Linked DNA regions of Homo sapiens: region 1 is linked to region 2. The links are contacts of gene promoters, found by promoter capture Hi-C in blood cells and fetal thymus (Javierre and others, 2016). All regions are on one chromosome and are shown on one strand. The core of a region is centred on a gene start or on the middle of the fragment in contact, and the rest is flanking DNA. Distances in the headings are between cores, read along the strand shown.

Evidence for each region. The method cuts DNA at HindIII sites, captures the fragments that hold promoters and counts their contacts. A CHiCAGO score of 5 or more calls a contact.
Region 1: a fragment that was not itself captured here is called in contact with the fragment with the promoter of TMEM255B in region 2 in 2 of 17 cell types (naive CD8 T cells and naive CD4 T cells); the score reaches 8.4 in naive CD8 T cells.

What each region holds. Positions count from the first base shown.
Region 1 is chr13:114,323,721-114,327,119 of GRCh38, reverse strand. It overlaps CHAMP1 (chromosome alignment maintaining phosphoprotein 1), which reads right to left. Exons shown (of 3, transcript NM_032436.4): 3 at 1-3,332. The coding sequence starts at 3,277. The coding sequence ends at 839. Among named protein-coding and RNA genes, the nearest start is that of LINC01054, 8.5 kb to the left of the region's middle. The HindIII fragment of the contact is 721 bases long and covers 1,209-1,929 here.
Region 2 is chr13:113,757,248-113,760,657 of GRCh38, reverse strand. TMEM255B (transmembrane protein 255B) reads right to left here and starts at 1,432. Exons shown (of 9, transcript NM_182614.4): 1 at 1,343-1,432. The coding sequence starts at 1,388. RefSeq lists enhancers at 713-1,214, 1,771-2,272. The HindIII fragment of the contact is 10,322 bases long and covers 1-3,410 here.

The DNA.
Region 1 (3,399 bases), core at 320-2,819, 570 kb before region 2:
TTAAGCCCCAACAGGCGACATGTAAGGCCCAGGAGTAGGATATACAAACTCTAACACATTTGGCAATTAAGAATCATCTATTAGTGTGAGCTGGCAGGCGGTGGGTGGGGGGTGGGGATGGGGAGGGAAGAACCAGATCTTAGGGTAAGATACAGAATGGAAGACTCCACTGAAAACAACTATGGACAAGAAAGATCTAAAATCACACTTATCTTTCACTTGTCTCCTGTGGGAGAAGGCTGCAAACTATTTTAAAGACTTAGTCAATTTTTCCCATTAGCAGAAAATCAGCAACCCTGAGACTCCAACATTTCATGACATAAAAGCTAATAAACATCTAGAAGCTGATTAAGATTTATAAACTAATTTTACATCAGATAGAAAATAACTCTTATGATTTAAAAATACATGTAAGGAAACAAAATTTCTCAAATTTATTTTTCATGCCTAATTCTTAAACATTTCAACTAATATTTTCTATTGTCTGAAATTAGTTCCACACACAGATACACTTTAACTGAATGCTTTGAGTACAACTTGCTCTTGATTATTAAATGGAATGCCTACTTCCTTGTATTATTATTCATACATATTTAAAAGAAATGAGAAGTTTAATCCATCTGGACTATACAGAAATTTATTGACTTACAAGATAGTCACATAGACAGAGACCAGAAAAAAATGATCAAATGCTCATTCTTAGTAACACAACTGAGACAGTGAAACACGGTACACCATACATGTCATCTACTGATCCAACTATGCTATCTGATAAGCTATACTTACAAAGAATGGTTCCAACAAACACCTTTGTAGAACAAATATTCACACTGTGTTATCAAATTTGCTGCTCCTCCAGTGGCGGTTCAAGAGCTTCCATTAGCTTTTTATTTGCCTCTTCATTATGCCGGCTTTGACAATGAGTTAAATGTTTCTTAAAACCTCTTGGGAAATTTGATTCAAAATTACAACGTGGACATTTAAGTAAACTTTGCCCATGGGCTGCTACATGATTTTTAAGGAGAGATTCCAAAAGAAAAGCCTTTCCACAGATTGTGCATTTGTAAGGGCTATGAACATTATGCTTATTAACCAAATGATGCAAAACAGCACCTTTTTTCATAGCACGACAGCAACAAATTTTGCAATAATACTTTCCTTTTCCACGCTTCATGTATTTTGCAATCTCCTCTTCAGAGATAAAAGCTTCTTTTTCTTCAGTAAACTGTAGCACATTTCTAGACTGCTCTGGACTAGTCATGTCCATTTTGTTCTCTTTGCTAAAATCAATGGATTCCACATCAACCTGCTCTTGATCACTGCTTGATTCCTGGCCCTTAATATCCATCGCATCCAAATCTGTTTTTATGTACTCACTACTACTAAGCTCAGCGTCTGAGCTCTCTTGGTTGTCTTTCTTGAGCTTCTTTGAGGAAGGAAATAAAGTATCTTCTAAGAGTTTCTTAGGTGAAGCTAGAAGTTCTTCCTGAACCAAAATATCACATTTTTGATCATCTATGGCATCTATTTGTAGTTCATCACCAAGCTCAACAGCCTTCTGTGATTCTGAGAATAGAGCAGATTTGGGGAGTTCAGGGAAAAGGGCATGCTTCCGGGGCTCTGGAAAAAGGGCACGTTTGCGTGCTTCTGGAGAAGCAGGAGGGGCTGTTTTGGCAGGCTCGGGAAACAGGGCAGGTTTTCTAGGCTCAGTATCGATAGAGAGAACAGGCTTCCAGATATCTGAGGCTGCTTTGGGGGACTCAGATGGCCCAGAAGGACCTGGTTTTCGGGTCTCAGGGAAGACAGGTTTCTGAGGCTCAATAAAAAAGGAAGACTTCCAGAGATCAGGAGAACCACCACGGGAACTTTTCTGGGACTCAGGGAAATCAAGTGAAGCAGGAGAAGTTTTCCGCTGATCAGGAGAAAGCTTCCAAAGATCTGGTGACCCTGAGGGTTTTCTGAGCTCTGGAGATCCTGCTGGACTACGGATCTCTGGGGATAGTGGTGGGCCGGGTTTGCGAAGCTCTGGAGACACTGGGGGAACTGCCTTCCAATGTTCAGGAGACAACGTGGGAGCTGTCTTTCGGAGTTCTGGTGGGCCAGACTTCCATGACTCAGGAGATGCAGGGGGAGACTTCCAGGAGCTGGGTGAGACTGATGAAGATTTCCAGGATGCAGAAGACACAGATGGAGTTGGTTTCCAAGGTCCAGGAGATACAGAAGGAATTGGTTTCCAAGGTCCAGGAGACACAGATGGAGCAGGTTTAGCTGGCTTCCAAGGTCCTGATGATGCTGAAGGATTGGATTTCCAAGGCCTAGGGGACCCAGGTGGCCCTGGTTTCCAAGAGCCTGGTGACACAGCGGGGGCTGGTCTCCTAGGCTCTGGGGAGACAGCAGGGAACGGCTTCCAAGGTTCAGGAGACTCTGAAGGGGATGGCTTCCTTGGCTCAGGGGAGGTAGTCCGGGCTGACTTCCGAGATTCTGGAGATGCAGCTGGGGATGGTCCCCAAGGTTCTGGGGAAGCAGCTAGAACTGGTGACTCTGGAGATGAGGCTGAAGGTGGCCCCAATGTTTCCGGGAAATGAGACTGCTTCTGGGGTTTGGGATTACTAAGAGTAGCCTTTACTGACTCAGGAGATACAGGGGCAGGTTTCTGTGGTTCTGGAGAAGGAACAGGGGCAAGTTTCTGAGACTCACAAACAGGGACTGATTTTGGAGGTTCAGGAGAAGAAACAGAGGCAGGTTTTGAAGGCTCAGGAGAAGGAAGAGGTGTCTGTAGCTCAGGAGAAACAACAGAGCCAGGTTTCTGAGGCTCCAGGGGAGTAAGAGGAGTAGGTTTTGGCGATTCTGGAGACAAAACTGAACCAAGTTTCTGTGTTTCCATTGAAAGGGCAGGTATGGATTTTGGTTCTGCTGAATTGCAGGGTATTTTCTGGTGTTCAGGAAGAGGAGGGCTTTTCACAGGATCTGTTTCTTTGTTCAACTGATTTTTTGGTTTATCATTCCATTTGTCTGGGGATGCATGTTTGGATGTGATGTGATAGTATACATTAGAGTACATCTTGCTGGTGAAGAAGCATTTATGGCAGTGAAATAACTTTGCACTTTTCTGGTAAAATATCATTTTGCCTAGCCCACCAGCATCCATTTCATCACAAAATTCTGGATGGATGGTACCCATATGGATTTGTACATTTTCATAGTCTGTGCCTCTGAAACTGCAATGGTCACACTCCAAACGTGCTGATGGTTTACGAAGTTCCTGGAATGCTTCCATTCTTCTGTCTGTTACCAACACACACGGTTATATTCTTTAAAAACTTTCAATACTGCTGCAATAAAGTAGGAATAAATTATTTTCATGAACTGTAATTCTGAATAAAATGCTGTCAGTCCATT
Region 2 (3,410 bases), core at 183-2,682:
CCCACCCCCAGATACCCCAAAGCAGAAAGACCATAATCCACCCCGACACACCAAAGCAGAAAGACCATAATCCAACCCCAGACACACCAATGCTTTATACATTTTAGTAAAAGACCAGCTCCAAACAAAAAGACCCATAATCCTACCCAGATACACCAATGTTTCATATACTAAAAAGACCAGCTCCAAGTATTGTTTTAAGGTTTAAAGTTCTTTGTCAGAAGAAAATCTAAGTCAGATGCTATTTTTAAACATTAAGGCATTCTAATAATGATAAAACTAGTTAATAAATAATAATAATAGTTATCATTATTAAACACCAATAGACTAATCCACATTAATACATTTGACCATAGAGCATTTTGCTTTAGATTGGAAGGCATATAGTGGTTTCTTTTAGAAAGAAGCCAAATTATTTGATTATTTTAAGTAACAGTAATTCGTCCGGTTCCGAACGATGCCGCAGTAAAAGGGTTGTGAGGTTAATCCCCAGAAGTTTGTGTTGGATTATTTCTGAGGGAGCGGCAGAGCCCCCTAGACACCACTCCATCCCTCCCTCCAGCCGTCAGGGCTTCACTTTCTAGGGAACTCTGTTTCTCTTTTGTTCTGAAATCTGCCCAGCCCTCTCCCCCTCAGGAAGACACCCGGCATCCTTCCAGTCCTGGCCACTTCCCGGCAGAGCCCCCGAGCCCGGCTTGCGAACTGGTGAACACGCAACAGGTTTCCTGTTTTCCCAGCCTTTGCCTGGCTCCGAGGCTGCAGCGGGCTTGGTCTGGGAAGTGGAAGAATTGGAGATTCCGTGAACACACCGGGGAGAAACACGAGAGAGGGGCGAGCCGAAACCAAGCAACACTGTCCAGTTCTGTGAGCGCCTCTGCACGTTCAAACAGGAAAAGGCTACCTCGCTCTTCCAAACGAAGTTTTCCCGGAAAATGGTGTAGGTTGGAATAAACGGAAGAGATGGGGAAGGAGCGCACTTTGGGGCGCCTGTTCCTCATAATAAAACGTAACAGGGAGAGAGAGGCCAAGAGGAACGGACACAGAGTCAGAGAAAGGCAAAGACTGAGGAGGCAGAGACAGAAAGAGCGAGAGAGACAGAGACAGAGACAGAGAGAGAGACAGGGAGAGAGAATGAATGAACGAACCGGTAGGACGAACGCCCGACCCCAGTGCGAAATGCAAAGTGTTCCAAAGACAGAGCTCGAAGGAGGCGGAGGGACCAGACCCCGTGCCGCGTCTCCGCGCAGGTTCCGCCCGGGCCGGCCGGGGACCTGTAGTCCCAGCCCCGGGGTCCCCACGCTCCCCCGCAGGAGCCGAGACGAGCCCCCAGCCCCGCGCTCACCTGCGGGGTCCAGCAGGCCCAGGGGCCCGGGCACCGGCGGCTGCATCCCGAGGCCCCACCCGGCTCTCCCGGGGCCACAGCCACAGTCCCGCCGCCAGGAGCCGCCCTCGCGGCGCCGCCCCTTCCCCGCCCCCTGCACCTCCCCGCGCTCCGCCCGCCTCGCGTCCTTCCTCGCTCTACTCTCCCTTCTCCGGCGTTTCTTCTCCTCCCTCCCCCGCTGCGCCCGCTCCCCCTTCTCCCCTCCAGCGGCCGCCTGGTTTCTGGAAATCAGGACGCCGCGGCCGGGAGTGGAAGCCAGACCCCAGATGGAAGGTGCCTGGAGAGGACCCTGCGGACTCGGGGTCGGAGCCCCGGCCTGGGACGGTGACCCCGGGCCTTCCGCCGCTGGCGCCACGCTCAGCCCTTGGCGGTGCCGCTGAGTGGGTCACCACGGGTTCGCCTCCCCATTGGCCGGTGACGGAGCTCCTTGGGGCTACAGGGCCAGCCAGCCCTTGATCTCTGGGTTCAGAGGGTGGTACATGGTGTTACAACCCAGTCTGCGAGGAACGAGTAAATGAGGAACAAACGCAAATGAGTAAATGAGGAACAAACGCATCTGGCACCTCACTCAGCAGCCCCGAGGCAGGGCTGACCCGCCTCTCCAAGGCCTGCGTCTTTGTGTCCACAGCACTGAAGTTGTTCTGAGTAAAATCTGCTGCTGGAAAGAAGGGCAAGGAAACACGGGGCCAGAAAGGGTGCCTCGTACAGCAGCAGGAAAAAATAAAGATCCTTCTAAACGTATTTTTAACATCTTTGAGTCAAGGACATCAGCGGTCCCGTCACAAAAGAAGATGCTTGAACGATCAATAAACTCAGCCCCCGGAATTAGGGGAACGCTGTGGGAACAAGAGGATGCGTTTCACCCTCATCCTATCAGAAAACCCCAAGGGTCAAACAACTTAAAGAATGTTAATGAAAACGTGGGAATCTGCATTCACCGCTGGGATCACGCATGGTGCCACCACTTTGAAAGCAACCTTTAGGAAAATTGAAGCAAGTAGATGACAAGCCAGAAAGAAAGCATATCTCTTTCTAGATATGCCCAAGAACACAAACATAGATCTGCTCCTTCGAGCCAGGAGCCGTGGTTCTCAACCCCGGCTGTCGTTAAAGTCATCCAGGAATGTCTTTAAAAGAAAAAACATTTCTGCAGCACTGAACCCAGACCAGATCAATTGAACCAGAACTTCTGGGAACAAACTAATAGCTAAGAATTCCCTAGTCATTCTAATAGGCCATCCACTGTGAGAGAGAAACTACCACAAGAAGTATGCATGTGCTAGAAGATGCGTACAGAATATTCCTCACAACACTGTGTGTCCAAAGCACCGGACACACCCTGAATATCCAACACGGGGAGAAGCGATAAAGAAATGGGCATATACAGCGAAATACCACATGGCAGTTAAAATAAATGAGAGCTACATGGATCAATGTGGATAAATGCCAAAAACAGAACGCGGAGCAAAAATGCAAGTGCACAGTACGGCAGCGAGTACGACAGCAAGTACGGCAGCGAGTATGGTACCATTTATATAAAGTTTTAAACCATGAAAATTAACACTGTTCACTCAGTGAGCCTCTCAAGACTTACTAAACATCCGCGATATACCAGACACTGTTCCAGGTACTTGGGATGTATCAATGAGCAACGTAAACAAGGATCCTGGTGGGGAAGTGAGGCCATGAATAATAATACAATAAACAAGAAAAATGCACAGCATGTCAGAGGGCAACATGCTATGGAATACACACACACATATACACATACACACATGCAGACATACACACATGCATGCACATACACACATACACACACATGCATATATACACATGCATACATACACACATGCATGCATGTGTGCATACATACATGCACGCATACATACATGCACATACACACATGCATACATGTGTGCATACATACACGCACACATACATACACATACATACACACATGCATACATACACACTTATACGTGCATACATGCACATATGCACATATACATACACACATGCATGCATACAC